Regions from separate parts of the Homo sapiens genome. Here regions 2, 3 and 4 are each linked to region 1. Evidence: promoter capture Hi-C in human tissues and cell types (Jung and others, 2019). All regions are on one chromosome and are shown on one strand. The core of a region is centred on a gene start or on the middle of the fragment in contact, and the rest is flanking DNA. Distances in the headings are between cores, read along the strand shown.

Region 1 (3,320 bases), core at 510-3,009:
AGGGGGAGCATGAGAGCTGGGCGGCCCCTGGAGAGAGGACTCCAGCAGACCTTGAAAGGCCTTAACATTATTCCCTGCATCGGCCGGGCACGGTGGCCCACGCCTGTAATCCCAGCACTTTGGGAGGCCGAGGCGGGCGGATCACGAGGTCAGGAGATCGAGACCATCCTGGCTAACACGGTGAAACCCCGTCTCTACTAAAAATACAAAAAATTAGCCGGGGGTGGTGGCGGGCGTCTGTAGTCCCAGTTACTGGGGAGGCTGAGGCAGGAGAATGGCATGAACCCGGGAGGCAGAGCTTGCAGTGAGCCGAGATCGCGCCACTGCACTCCAGCCTAGGCGAGAGTGAGACTCCTCTCAAAAAAAAAAAAAAAAAATTATTCCCTGCATCTCCAAAGCAGTTTACAGTTGCTAAAGGGCTTTGTCCATCACTTTCCTGGCTCCTTACAGGGTAGAACTGAAGGTGTTCTGATCTCACTTTATTTATTATTTTATTTTATTTTGAGTTGGATTCTCGCTCTGCCGCGCAGGCTGGAGTGCAGTGGCACGATCTCGGCGCATTGCAATCTCTGCCTCCCGGGTTCAAGCGATTCTCCTGCCTCAGCCTCCCAAGTAGCTGAGATTACAGGTGCAGGCCACTGTGCCCGGCTGATTTTTGTATTTTTAGTAGAAACGGGGTTTCGCCATGTTGGCCATGCTGGTCTTGAACTCCTGACCTCAGGTGATCCTCCCACCTCGGCCTCCCAGAGTGCTGGGATTACAGGCATGAGCCACCGTGCCCGGCCAGGCCAGGCTAATTGTTGTATTTTTAGTAGAGACGGGGTTTCACCATGTTGGCCAGGCTGGTCTCGAACTCCTGACCTCAAGTGATTCCCCCGCCTCGGCCTCCCAAAGTGCTGGGATCACAGGCTTGAGCCACCGCACCCAGTCTTGAGCTCACTTTATAGGTGGGATGGAGAACCTTGTAGGAGTTAAGAGCCTGGGCCACCGCCTTATTAGAGCAGGGGCAGCGCTGCACCCACCCGGGTCCCAGCTCCACACTTCCCTCTTCCTCCCCAGCCACCAGGATCAGCGTGGGGTGCAGCGCCTCCTGAGTGCAGAGGTCTGTGTGAATGTGCCTGGGTGTGCGCTGTGTACCTGGAGGTCTTTCTGCCTGCTGTCCCGTGGGGTACATTGTGGATTTAGGGGCCTTGTGCACCCGGGGAACCAGGGTGCTCAGGCACCCACGCAGTGGTGAGAAGATGGAGAGATCTTGGCCTCCCTCTGCCCTTTTCAGCCTTTCAACTTCTGTCTCTTGATGTCTCTTCGCCTTCCCGGTGTTCTAGGGTTTCTGATTCCCTCTATCAGTTTCCGGGGACGAAGGCTCGGAGTCCCCTTCCCAGCCGCTCTTATAATGGAGAGAGGAGATTCCATTGAGGGGTGGCTCCTGGAGGAGGGGTACTTCAGGGCAGTGGGGGACCCCCGGACAGAGAACGGAGGTGCTGGGCGTGGGGTGGGGAGATAACTAAGCCAGCAACACCAGCATCACCACCACCAAAACCCGAGACACCACCATCCTCAGTCCCACTCCCCAGCCGGGACACAGGGCGGAGTCTCGCCAGTAGGGCTTGAGGCCACCCAGCTGCCCAGGGCGCACCCCGACCCCCGGCCCCGCCAGCAGGGCACGAGTCCGCTCCGGATCCGTCCCGGGTTTCTTCCGCGTCGCCGGGGTCTCCGCCCCTCGAAGCTGCCGCCGGAGCGTCGCCGGGGGAGCCACGCGTGCCACCCGAACCCCTGAACCGATGGGCGCCCCGGCCCGCGTCGCCAACGGAGCTGCGGCGCTGCCCCAGCGCTGACCGACGTTAGAGTCGGGCTCCGACAGCGCGGCCGAGTCCCCGCGCGTCATCCTCCTTTGACTCTTGGGGGCTCCAAAGGGACCTCTCTCTTGGCACCGGGGGTGTCTGCGCCCGCCGCCCGCCCCGCTTGGCTTTGCGGCATCTCGGCCCTGGCTCCAGCTCCGGCTCCGGCGAGGTAGGGGGGCGGCCGGGCCTGGGGACTGGGGAGGGGGCTAGCGTGCTCCTCCACCGCAGAATGGGGCAGCAGAAGGCCACCGCCCCTCAGGGGGACCAAGCGGCTGCGCCCCCTTCTGCCCAGCCCCTCCCAGTCCGAAGACCCAGAAAACTGAGTCAGAGGCTGCGCTTCAGGTGTCCAGAAGCGCTCCCCCGCCCCCCTCTGTTGCCATGTCGCTCCCACCTGTCCCCAGGGTCCGGCGCCCAGGGGAACCCCCGCCAAGCAGATCGCTCCCTTTGCAATCTCCCTCTCCCCCAAGCCCAAGCCCCCAATCCGGGGTAGAGGCAGAGGGAAGACCCTCACTCGGGAAGACCCTGCAGGACAGCCCCCCCTTCTCCACTACTGTGGCCCTCTGGGGCCCTCCCCCCACCCCCTTTGGCTGGGCCATCTTCCTCGGCCCCTGCCTCTGCCCACCCCCTAGGCCTTCTCTCCCGCCCCCACTTCATCGCCTCTCCCCGTCTCTGTTTCCAAGGTTGTTCTCTTACGGCCTTTTTTCTGACTTTCTTTTCCCCTTGACCCCTTCCCCTCCACGGATCCCCGCCCCCCATACCCCGGGGCGAAGGGGGTGTGTCACGCTGCTTTCTATTTACAGTGTCCCAGGGGAGGGGGTGCGTGCTAGGATTTTTTTTTTTTCATCTGCTGGGCCCAGAGTCACGAGGTGTCATGTCTGTGATTCGGTGTCGAAGCCTCCTCCGGCTTCCCTGCCTGTCCCCTGCGGCCGCATCTCCTGTCCGCTTTTGTCTGCTCTCTGCCTCCATTCCCGTCCTTTTCGCTCTCATCTTTGGGCGCTTTGTGCAGCTGCCTTCTTTGTCTCCGCCTCTCCGGCGACTGGGCTCTCCCTTCCCTCCCTCTCCTCCCTCCCCCAGTGTCAAGAAGCCATCGGCCTCAAGGGCATCGATATTTCAGGTGTGTGGGGTGTGGTGGGAGTGGGGTGCGGGTGGGTGGGCTGCCGGCATTCCCAGCTCTGACTCCGATCATGCCCAGCTATGACTCTGATCACCCCCTCCCCAAAGAGATCATTCATATTTATGAGATTTAAAGAATGTCCCCAAGGATGTGGGGATAGACATGAAGAGAGAAATGTTATTCCTCTTTTTTTTTTTTTTTTTTTTTGACAGCGTTTCACTCTTGTTGCCCAGGCTGGAGTGCAATAGCGTGATCTCGGCTCACCACAATCTCGGCCTCCCGGGTTGAAGCGATTCTCCTGCCTCAGCCTCCTGAGTAGCTGGGATTACAGGAATGCGCCAGCACGCCCGGCTACTTTTGTATTT
Region 2 (3,320 bases), core at 510-3,009, 200 kb after region 1:
ACTACAGGCCCCTGCCAGTAGGCTCAGCTAATGTATTTTTAGTAGAGATGGGGTTTCACCATGTTGGCCAGGATGGTCTCGATCTCTTGACCTCGCGATCTGCCTGCCTTGGTCTCCCAAAGTGCTGAGATTGCAGGCATGAGCCACCGTGCCCTGCCTATATACATTTTATTTTATTTTATTTTATTTTATTTTGCTTTATTTTATTCTGTTTTATTTTATTTTATTATAGGTATGCCTTATGTCACCCCTTGGAGAACCCATGGAAAATCATTCACTGGTAACAATTTCCAAGCTGGCACTCCCCAGACCTTTGTAGTCAAAATGCTTAACAAAAATTGCCTATTTGCCTACATTGCAGCCACTGGTCATTAAAGATGCCAGCTCCCTCTCCTGCTAAGCAGGTAAAGTTTGGTAGCTTTTTTCTCTGTGAGAGTAATGACATGGTATCTCATTAAATGAATTAAGTTGAGTCCTTTCTTGCCCATTTACAGTGTTTACTGCTTCTACATTCCACATGTATTTGGATTTTTCTTTAAAAAGATTAAGGTTAGGGACAATGGCTCACACCTGTAATCCCAGCACTTTGGGAGGCTGAGGCAGGAGGTTTGCTTGAGGCCAGGAGTTCAAGACCAGCCTGGAAAACATAGCGAGACCCCCATCTGTACAAACATTTAAAAATTAGCTGGGCATGGTGGTGCACATCTGTAGTCCCAGCTACTTGAGAGGCTGAGGCAGAAGGCTCACTTGAGCCCAGGAGGTCAAGGCTGCAGTGAGCTATGATTGTGCCACTGCACTCCAGCCTGGGCAACAGAGAAAGACGCTGTCTCTAAAATAAAATAGATTATTATTTAATTAAGGCAGCTGGTTTTTCAGGCAAACCTTTCACATCGTGGCATGCTTGGGGACACACATTAGAAGGTTCTTCAAGGACAAGTCTGAAGACCATCACCAAGCTTTGAAACTGTCTCCTCCTGCCACCTCCAGGACATATTTCTGCTTGTGACAAAATCAGTCAATGAAGTCCCCAGTGGCAGCTCCCCTGAAGAGGCAGTGGCAGTGTGGGGAGCCCCCACGGGGTGTGGAGGGAGGGTCCTTGCTATGTCTCCAAGACCAACCTGTACACCGCTGTGTGACCTTGTGCAATCCAGCGAACCTCTCTGAACTTCCATTTCTCCCTCGAAAATGAGAGTAAATGATGCCTGTTCTTGCCACCCTGATCACTCTAGAATATTCTACAATGTTATGGGAGGCACTGGGATGAGCTGGGGTCCCCCAGTTCTAGGTGCACATTCTGCTCTGCCACACAAGAGCTAGATAGCCTGGGTCTATTCCTTTAACATAAGCTCATTGGCTCCTGGCTGAGTTGTAGAGGTAGAGATAGAGCTGGGGCCACCCCAACCCCTGCACACACCAATGGCGGTGGATGGACTTCTTGGCTTTCTAGTGCCAGCAGGCACTGTCACTGCTTCTTAAAAGCAAGAGCCACCAGTTGAGGCTAAAGCATGGTATCGCGCATTGAATAGGATCACCCCAAAATATATCCTCGAAGTCCTAACTCCTGGTACCTGGGAACGCGACCTTCTTTGGAAACAGGGGCTTTCCAGATGTCATTAAGTCAAGGATCTCAAGATCAGATTTAGGATGGGCCCTAAATCTGCATACTTGTCAGAGAAAAGAGAGAGAGGTGTGACGTACAGGAAAGATGCCCAAAGACGATGAGGCAGAGATCGGAGTGATGTTATCACAAGCCAAGGAACACCAGGCGTCAACAGGAGCTAGAAAAGGCTGGCCAGGCACGGTGGCTCACGCTTGTAATCCCAGCACTTTGAGAGGCCGAGGCCAGTGGATTGCTTGAGCCCAGGAGTTTGAGATCAGCCTGGGCAACATAGCAAGACCCCGTCTCTACAAGAAAAAAAAATACAAAAATTAGCCAGTCTCATAATCCAGCCTCTAAATAACGAGATAAACATTTTTTTAAAAAGGAAGAAGCTGGCCAGGCACGGTGGCTTATGCCTGTAATCCCAGCACTTCGGGAGGCCAAGGTGGGTGGATCACGAGGTCAGGAGTTCGAGACCAGCCTGACCGACATGGTGAAACCCCGTCTCTACTAAAAATACAAAACTTAGCCGGGCGTGGTGGCGCGTGCCTGTAATCCCAGCTACTCAGAAGGCTGAGGCAGGAGAATTGCTTGAACCGGGAGGCAGAGGTTGCAGTGAGGCGAGATCGCACCACTGTACTCCAGCCTGGGCAACAGAAAGACACTCCGTCTCAAAAAAAAAAAAAAGCTAGAGAAGGCAAGGAGAGATCTTCCTCTAGAGAGTTTGAAGGGAATGTGGCACTCATGATGACCTTGACTTCAAGCTTCTGGCGTCCACAACTGTAAGAGAATAAATTTATGTTGCTTGAAGCCACCAATAGTGTTTGTTAATTTATTGTGGCAGACCTAGGGAACACATACACACAGGCATCCCCAATTATAGCAAGTGGTAAAAAATGGGGACCCTGGAGCTGGAAAGCTTAGGTTCAAATCCTGACTCCTCCAACTGATGAATGGGTGGTATTGAGCAATTTCTTTTTTTTTTTTTTTTTTTTTTTTTTTTTTTTGAGATGGAGTCTTGGTCTGTCACCAAGGCTGGAGCGCAGTGTCACGATCTCGGCTCACTGCAACCTCTGCCTCCAGGGTTCAAGTGATTCTCCTGCGTCAGTCTCCTGAGTAGCTGGGATTACAGGAACCTGCCACCATGCCCAGTTAATTTTTGTACTTTTAGTAGAGATGGGGTTTCACCATGTTGGCCAGGCTGGTCTCGAACTCCCGATGTCACGTGATCTGCCTGCCTTGACCTCCCAAAGTGTTGGGATTACAGGCGTGAGACACCACGCCCCACCGAGCAAATTATTTATCATCTCTGTGCCTGTTTCCCCACGTATAAAAACCCAAAATCAGTAACACATCCTTCTTCTTAGGAATGTTGTAAAAGTTAAATGAGATAATATTATAAAAGTGTCCAGCACATAGCAAACCCTCAATGAATATTTGCATTTTTTTTTTTTTATAAAGAGTCTCGCTCTGTCGCCCAGGCTGGAGTGCAGTGGCACTATCTCAGCTCACTGCAATCTCCACTTCCTGGGTTCACGCCATTCTTCTGCCTCAGCCTCCCAAGTAGCTGGGACTACAGGCACACACCACCATGCCCGGCTAATTTTTTTATTTTTAGTAGAGACGGGATTTCACTGTGTCAGCCAGGATGGTCTCGATCTCCTGACCTTGTCATCCATCCGCCTCGACCTCCCAAAGTGCTGGGATTACAGGCATGAGC
Region 3 (3,320 bases), core at 458-2,957, 190 kb before region 1:
GCCTCTGAGCTGCTAGTCTGGGCACACTGCCTATGGGGTATCCCTGCTCTGCAAGGAGCAGGACCTCTGCTGCAGCTGTACACTGCCACATCAATTAAAGTTGCTGTCTGAAACCACCCACTCACCCTTGAATTCTTTCCTGGGTGAAGCCAAGAACCCTCCTGGCTAAGCCCCAATTTGGGGGCCTGCCTGTCTTGCATCCACTTTGCGATCCTTAATGAAAGAATGACATACGCAATGATCACCAACACCTCAAGCATCACGAGAGAAAAAGAGAGACAACCAGACGTTGTGATTTCCAATGGAAAAACACTACAGCACCCAAGATGTAATTCTGCCAAAATAGAAAACGAAGGAGGAGGAAGAACTAGATCCAACCAAGCTCTTGATCTAATTTCCCATTATCTGGAAATAAAGAGGACAGATGAACATGTTCACAGGCACCATGAGCATATAACCAACAAAATCCTGAAAAAGGAACAATCTAGAAGGCCAAGTTTCTTCAACAAATAAATTGCAACAAAAAGAAGGGAGACAGTGGAGGAGACTTGTAGACAGTGGTGTTCTGCTGAATATTTAACACCCAGCTTTCCAGAATAAAGCCACATCCTTCTGTTAGTCAGCTCAAGGTTGCCGTAACAGAATACCACAGACTGAATGGCTTAAGTAGCAGACATTTATTTCTCATAGCCCTGGAGGCTGGGAAGTCTAAGATCAAGGTGCTGGCAGATTCAGTTCCTGGTGAGGGTTCTCTTTCTGGTTTGCAGACAGCCACCTTCTTGCTGTGCTGTGTCCTCACATGGCAAAGAGAGAGAGCTCTGATTTCTCTTCTTCTTTTTTTTTTTTTTTTTCTTTTTTGAGACAGAGTCTCACTCTGTTGCCCAGGCTGGAGTGCAGTGGCATGATCTCAGCTCATTGTACCCTCCGCCTCCCGGGCTTAAGCGATTTTAGTGCCTCAGCCTCCCAAGTAGCTGGGACTACCGGTGTGCACCACCACGCCCGGCTAATTTTTGTATTTTTAGTAGACACGGGTTTTCACCATGTTGGCCAGACTGGTCTCAAACTCCTGACCTCAGGTGATCCACCCACCTGGGCCTCCCAAAGTGCTGAGATTACAGGCATGAGCCACCGCACCTGGCCTCTCTTCCTGTTCTTATAACATCCCTAATCAAATAATGGGGCACAGCCCTCACAACTTCATCTAAATCTAGTTACCTCCAAAGGTCCCCCCTCCAAATACCACCACATTGGAGGATAGGGCTTCAACATATGAATTTGGTGGGGACACACACATCAGTCCAGAGCATCTCCTGATATAATATGGTAGACTAGACCACCTATGAAGAATTTCTGTCTCTCCCAGCAAGCCCAAATAGAGACCATAAATCTAATCAAACCTTCCAACCTAACTTCCAAAATAGAAGAGATACAGGGGGCAGAGGATCCAATTAATTACACCACTGGGAAGCAATTAGTCAAAACTAGTACGTGGACATTGCAGATCAAGTTAACTACACCACTGGGAAGGAAATAGCTAAATCTAGTACGTGGACATCGCAGAGAACAACTGGTCTTCAACAAGTCAACAGCGTGGAGGAAAAAGTACTCTCTCAAAGGGGGAAGACTTTCCTACACTAAAAGGGAGAGAAAAGACAGAATAACCAATAAGCAGACTTATTTAGATCCTGATTTGAACAAACTAACAATTAAAAACTGCTTTTTGGCCAGGCACAGTGGCTCACACCTGTAATTCCAACACTTCGGGAGGCCAAAGCTGAAGGATTACTTGAAGCCAGGAGTTCAAGACCACCCTGGGCAACATAGCAGGACCCCACCTCTATGAAAAATTTAAAAGTTAGCCAGCCATGGTGGCCCATGCCTATGGTCCCAACTACTTAGGAGGCTGAGGTGGGAGGATTGCTTGAACCCAGGAGGTCGAGGCTGCAGTGAGCTATGATTGCACCATTACGCTCCTGCCTGGGTGACAGAGCAAGACCCTGTCTTTAAAAAAAAAAAAAAAAAAAAAAAAAAAAAAAAAAAAAAAAAAATCAGACGTTAACAAGGAGCAGTAACAATGAAATTAAAGCACTCTTTGTCAAGAAACAGCCCTGTCATCATTGCCTGTCAACTGAAGCCAAGCCCCGGTAAACACACTACTGAAGGCCAAGGCTGCAAGGACCACTGCTGTCCCCAAGCCTTCAGCTTCTGGACATCTTGGATCTCAAGGACAAGGGACACTTGTGATAGATAGCTCATGAGACACAGAAACATGTGACGCCCAAGCCAGCTCCAGCCTGTAACTCACCCAGGCAACAACCAGGTGCCTGCAATGCCCACGCTGGGCTTTCTGGGCAAAGAGACTCAGTCACACTCTGGAATATCAATGTGCCCCAAGCCTCCCCAACACCTTCTGGTATCCTTTTTAGGAATCCATTGCCCACAGATTCATCCACATCCTCCCTAAACCTAATTATATCCTCTCCCTGTTCTTATCCTGGTGGAAAGAGTTCTGGAAGATTCCACACTTGTTTGAGCCTCTTTTTGTTTGTGCTAAAATGATCCCTTCCAAGTTTCTGCAGATGTCCCCAAGTTCCAACCCACCAAATGCCAGAATGAGGTCCCCATTCGCTCCCGCTCTTCATGGTCCTCACCTCTTGCTTTTTTGCAGGCGTATTTCAGGCTGCAAACACCTTTTTTTTTTTCCTTCCCACACCTTTTAATTACAAAAGTATTACATGAATATACGCTCCTTGCAAAACATCCATTCAATCCCCGTACCGGCCAGTAGGTTCTCTTAGGGACCAAGCACAGTGGCTCATGCCTGTGATCCCAGCACTTCGGGAGGCTGAGGCAGGCAGATCATTTGAGGCCAGGAGTTTGAGACCAGCCTGGCCAACGTTACATTTTTTATTGGCCAACAATACAAAAATTAGCCAGGCGCAGTGGTGGGCACCTGTAATCCCAGCTACTTGGGAGGCTGAGGCAGGAGAATCACTTGAACTTGGGAGGCAGAGGTTGCAGTAAGCCAAGATTGCACCATTGCACTCCAGCCTGGGAGACAGAGCGAGACTCTGTCTCAAAAAAAACACAGAAACCAGAAAAACATTCAGACAAGCCACAAGCAGACAGAGGGAAAATGGGACAGTCCCCTGGCCCAGCCCTAGACTTCTTCATAACATTAACTGCTGAAATGGTTTCCTAGAAACTTTTTTCAGGCATTTATCTACCTAGATGTAGATCTGATTTTCCTTTTCATAAATGAAATCGTGCTGTATATATTATTCTGTAACTTGAAAAGCTTGTTTTTTAGACAATCCTCA
Region 4 (3,320 bases), core at 232-2,731, 160 kb after region 1:
GAAGAGAGGGGGAAGGAAGGGGCTAGAAGAACCCAGGAAGAGGGAAGGGAGGAGCAGAGAGAAAGAAAGGAGGGGGCCAGGAGCGGTGGCTCACCCCTGTAATCCCAGCACTTTGGGAGCCCAAGGTGGGAGGACTACCTGAGATCAGGAGTTTGAGACCAGCCCGGTTAACATGGTGAAACCCTGTCCTTACTAAAAATATACAAAATCTAGCTGGGCATGGTGGCATGTGGCTGTAATCCCAGCTACTCAAGAGCCTGAGGCGGGAGAATCGCTTGAACCCGGGAGGCAGAGGTTGCAGTGGGCTGACATCACGCTACAGAACTCCAGCCTGGGTGACAGAGCGAGGCTCCGTCTCAAAAAAAAAAAAAAAAAAAAAAGGAGGAGACAGAGGTGAGGGTTGGGGAGGAAAACAAAAGATCATGTCTAAGATGCTGTTATTAGAGATACATCACCAAGGGTCTGGAAGGCACAGAAAGTGCAAGGAAAGGAGTGTTTTCATTACAACGAATGGGCTGGCAGATCTGGGTGAGATTGCCACAGGGTGACATCTCGAGGGGCAGGGACCCTGAGGTCTATGGGTCCAGTTTCTGTCTTGGTTCCCCTGCGCCCTTCTCTGGGGGCAGGTGAGGGGCAGAGGGAGCTCCCAGAGAGTCCAGCTGGAACCCACTGTCATCCCTCCTGCTCTGAGCCCCCCGGGGTCCCTGTGGCCATGAAGCCCAAAGCGGCTGAGCTGGAATGATCCTCAGAGGTCCTAATGCCTTGTCTTTTGGGGAGACTGAGGCAGGAGATGAACTGAGCGGCCCCAGGGTGCACAGCTGGTTCATGGCAGGATTAGAATCTGGGGCTCCTGAAACGCCATTTTGTGCCCATGTGGCTATGTCCCGGAAACATTCCTGGGGCACACAGCAGGGTGTGCTGGTGTGGGAGGTGACAGGGACTTGGCGGGAACATTCACTGGGTAAGGATAGACTCTAATATGGGTTGAACACCAGTCTTGTGCCAGGGATCATGCCTCGGGGGGGGAGCTCTTTTCAATCCTAGCAGCTGCCCTGAAAAGCAGGTGTTATTATTCTTACTTTCCGGAGGGGAGACTGAGGCTCGGAAGGGGAAACTAAGGCTCAGAGACCTCAACTGGAAGAGGCTCCAATGCCCTGGCTCTTCCCCCAAAGCTCGCTGGGGAGAGAAGAGAAGTCCAGGGGGTAGGCACAGGGCTGAGCTCCAGGCAGAGGGCACACCCCTATTGGTGTCCTGGAGGCAGCTCTCCCTCGGGGATGGGCAGACAGAGCAGGCTGGCCCCTGGGATGGGGGCCTCTTGGGCAGCGGGGCGTGGGGGTCACTCACCCTGTTCTGCAGCAGCTTGTGGGGGCAAGAGCGAGAGGACCAAGGTCAGCAGACACAGCGCCATGGTCCCTGGCCTTGGCATCGGAGCTCTGAGCACGTCTCACTTGCCTGTCACCCCCAGAGGAGCTGGCGAAATGAGCCTCAGAGAAGGAAACTGATAAATAAATGGGTGCCAGAGACCTTTGGTCCCTGAGACACTGGGGATCAGGGGCCAGCCTGAGCCTGAGTCAGTCTGGAAGCTTCCCTCATGACTTGGGGCGCAGGGCCTGTTTCAGGCCAAAGGGCAGAGGGAGGGGGTGCCTCTCCCTGGCCCGGCAGCCCATAGGCATGAGGGTTATCAGCTTTATCACCCCAACAGAGGGGCAGCCCAGAGGGCCTGTAGGAGCCAGGGGGGAACTGATGAGATCCCCCGACCGAGGGTGGTGGGAGATGGGCAAGAGGGACTGGGCCTGAGCTGGGAAAGGAGGAGGGTACCACCTGCATTTGACCCTAACCCCTAGCAGGGACACCCCCTTTGTCTCTTTTCTAACCCTTCTTATTGGCCGGGTATGGTGGCTCACACCTGTAATCCCAGCACTTTGGGAGGCTGACGCGGGAAGATCACTTGAGATGAGGAGTTTGAGACCAACCTGGCCAACATGATGAAACACCATCTCTACTAAAAATACAAAAATCAGCCAGACTTGGTGGCGGGCGCCTGTAATCCCAGCTACTCAGGAGGCTGAGGCAGGAGAATCGCTTGAACCTGGGAGGCGGAGGTTGCAGAGAGCCAAGATCGTGCCTCCGTACTCCAGCCTGGGCAACAGAGCAAGACTCTGTCTCGGCAAAAATAAATAAATAAAATAACCCTTCTTATTGTCCTATGAGTATGCCCTGAAGACATGGCCATGCCTGGGCAGGGAGTTCTTGGGTTTGGTCTGTGGGTTCCGAGGTAAGCACAGCTCCCATGGCCATCTGGAGTGACCCTGCCTTGTGCAAGCTCAGCAGAGCCAAGTGCTCACTCCCTGGCCAACTGGGGTTGAATCTGAGGTCCTCTCCTGTCCCCAGAACCTGACATTAGGCTTTTCTGCCACAGGGACCTCAGCAGAGGCAGGCCTAGACCTGTCCTGACTGGAGCCGGGGAGGGGGCTCCCTGCAAAGACACAGGAAGGGGCCCAGAGCATTCGTTCCATGCCCCATTCAGCAGCCAGTCCTGGGAGAAATCCCATCCCAGGAGGGCTCTGACCCCTAACCTGACCCCAACTGCAGAAGGAGGAGAAGGAAACCTCTCACTTCTCATTCTGAGCTTTCAGATTTGCTTTTATTGGTAGGGAAATTCCAGAGTGGGGAGCCACCCAGGAGGAGACAGGGGTGCCGAGGCTTCTGGGAGTCTGGAAGCTCCCGGATGGAGAGGCTTACAGCCCCCAGCCTTCCCCAGCAGGAGCACAGGCAGGGGACTGGCCAAGTCTGTCAGCTCAGAGCAGGACCGGCTTCAGGGCCTGACTTCGGTCTCCTCTTGACCCGCCCCGGAGGCTTGTGGTGGGCTCTGTGTTTGCAGCTCTCCTGAACAGAGCTAGATGAGGGTGGGAGGCCCCCGTTGGCTCACACAGTGGATGCTACCATCTCCGGCCTCTGGATGTGGAGCTGGGGGACGGGAGAGAAGAGGTGAGGCCAAGGGGCAGACCCGGGAAAGGGGGAGCCCCAGGAGGAAGAGGGAGCCCTGGCGGGGAGGAGGGAACCCCAGGGGGAGGGAGGGAGTCCCAGGGGGAGGGAGGGAGTCCTAGGGAGAGGAGGGAGTGGCGGGGGAGGGGGGAGTCCCAGGGGAAGGGGTGGCCCCAGGGTGAGGAGGGAGTCCTGGGGGAGGAGGGAGTCCCAGGAGAAGGGAGGGAGTCCTAGGGGGAGAAGGGAGTCCCAGGGGTAGGGAGAGTGTCCCAGGGAGAGGGAGGGAGTCCTAAGGAGAGGAGGGAGTCCTGGGGGAGGAGGGAGTCCCGGGGGAA

The links. The method cuts DNA at HindIII sites, captures the fragments that hold promoters and counts their contacts. A contact is called where the count stands out against the background at its distance.
Region 2: a contact is called between a fragment that was not itself captured here and the fragment with the promoter of NAT16 in region 1, in 2 of the 25 tissues and cell types used here (mesenchymal stem cells and pancreas).
Region 3: a contact is called between a fragment that was not itself captured here and the fragment with the promoter of NAT16 in region 1, in 3 of the 25 tissues and cell types used here (bladder, liver and lymphoblastoid cells).
Region 4: the fragment with the promoter of MUC17 here is called in contact with the fragment with the promoter of NAT16 in region 1 in 1 of the 25 tissues and cell types used here (aorta).

Annotation. Positions count from the first base shown.
Region 1 is chr7:101,178,732-101,182,051 of GRCh38, reverse strand. It overlaps NAT16 (N-acetyltransferase 16 (putative)), which reads left to right and starts at 1,759. Exons shown (of 4, transcript NM_198571.3): 1 at 1,759-2,010. RefSeq lists a silencer at 1,590-1,884 and an enhancer at 1,256-1,978. The HindIII fragment of the contact is 15,471 bases long and covers 1-3,320 here.
Region 2 is chr7:100,976,338-100,979,657 of GRCh38, reverse strand. The region is part of intron 1 of MUC12 (mucin 12, cell surface associated); the gene reads right to left. Among named protein-coding and RNA genes, the nearest start is that of MUC12, 8.4 kb to the right of the region's middle. The HindIII fragment of the contact is 4,503 bases long and covers 1-3,320 here.
Region 3 is chr7:101,365,203-101,368,522 of GRCh38, reverse strand. All of the region lies in intron 1 of COL26A1 (collagen type XXVI alpha 1 chain), which reads right to left. Among named protein-coding and RNA genes, the nearest start is that of COL26A1, 4.0 kb to the right of the region's middle. The HindIII fragment of the contact is 6,055 bases long and covers 1-3,320 here.
Region 4 is chr7:101,018,242-101,021,561 of GRCh38, reverse strand. It overlaps MUC17 (mucin 17, cell surface associated), which reads right to left and starts at 1,481. Exons shown (of 13, transcript NM_001040105.2): 1 at 1,345-1,481. The coding sequence starts at 1,426. MUC12 (mucin 12, cell surface associated) reads right to left here. Exons shown (of 12, transcript NM_001164462.2): 12 at 2,626-2,967. The coding sequence ends at 2,926. RefSeq lists an enhancer at 2,581-2,730 and a silencer at 2,780-3,074. The HindIII fragment of the contact is 20,706 bases long and covers 1-3,320 here.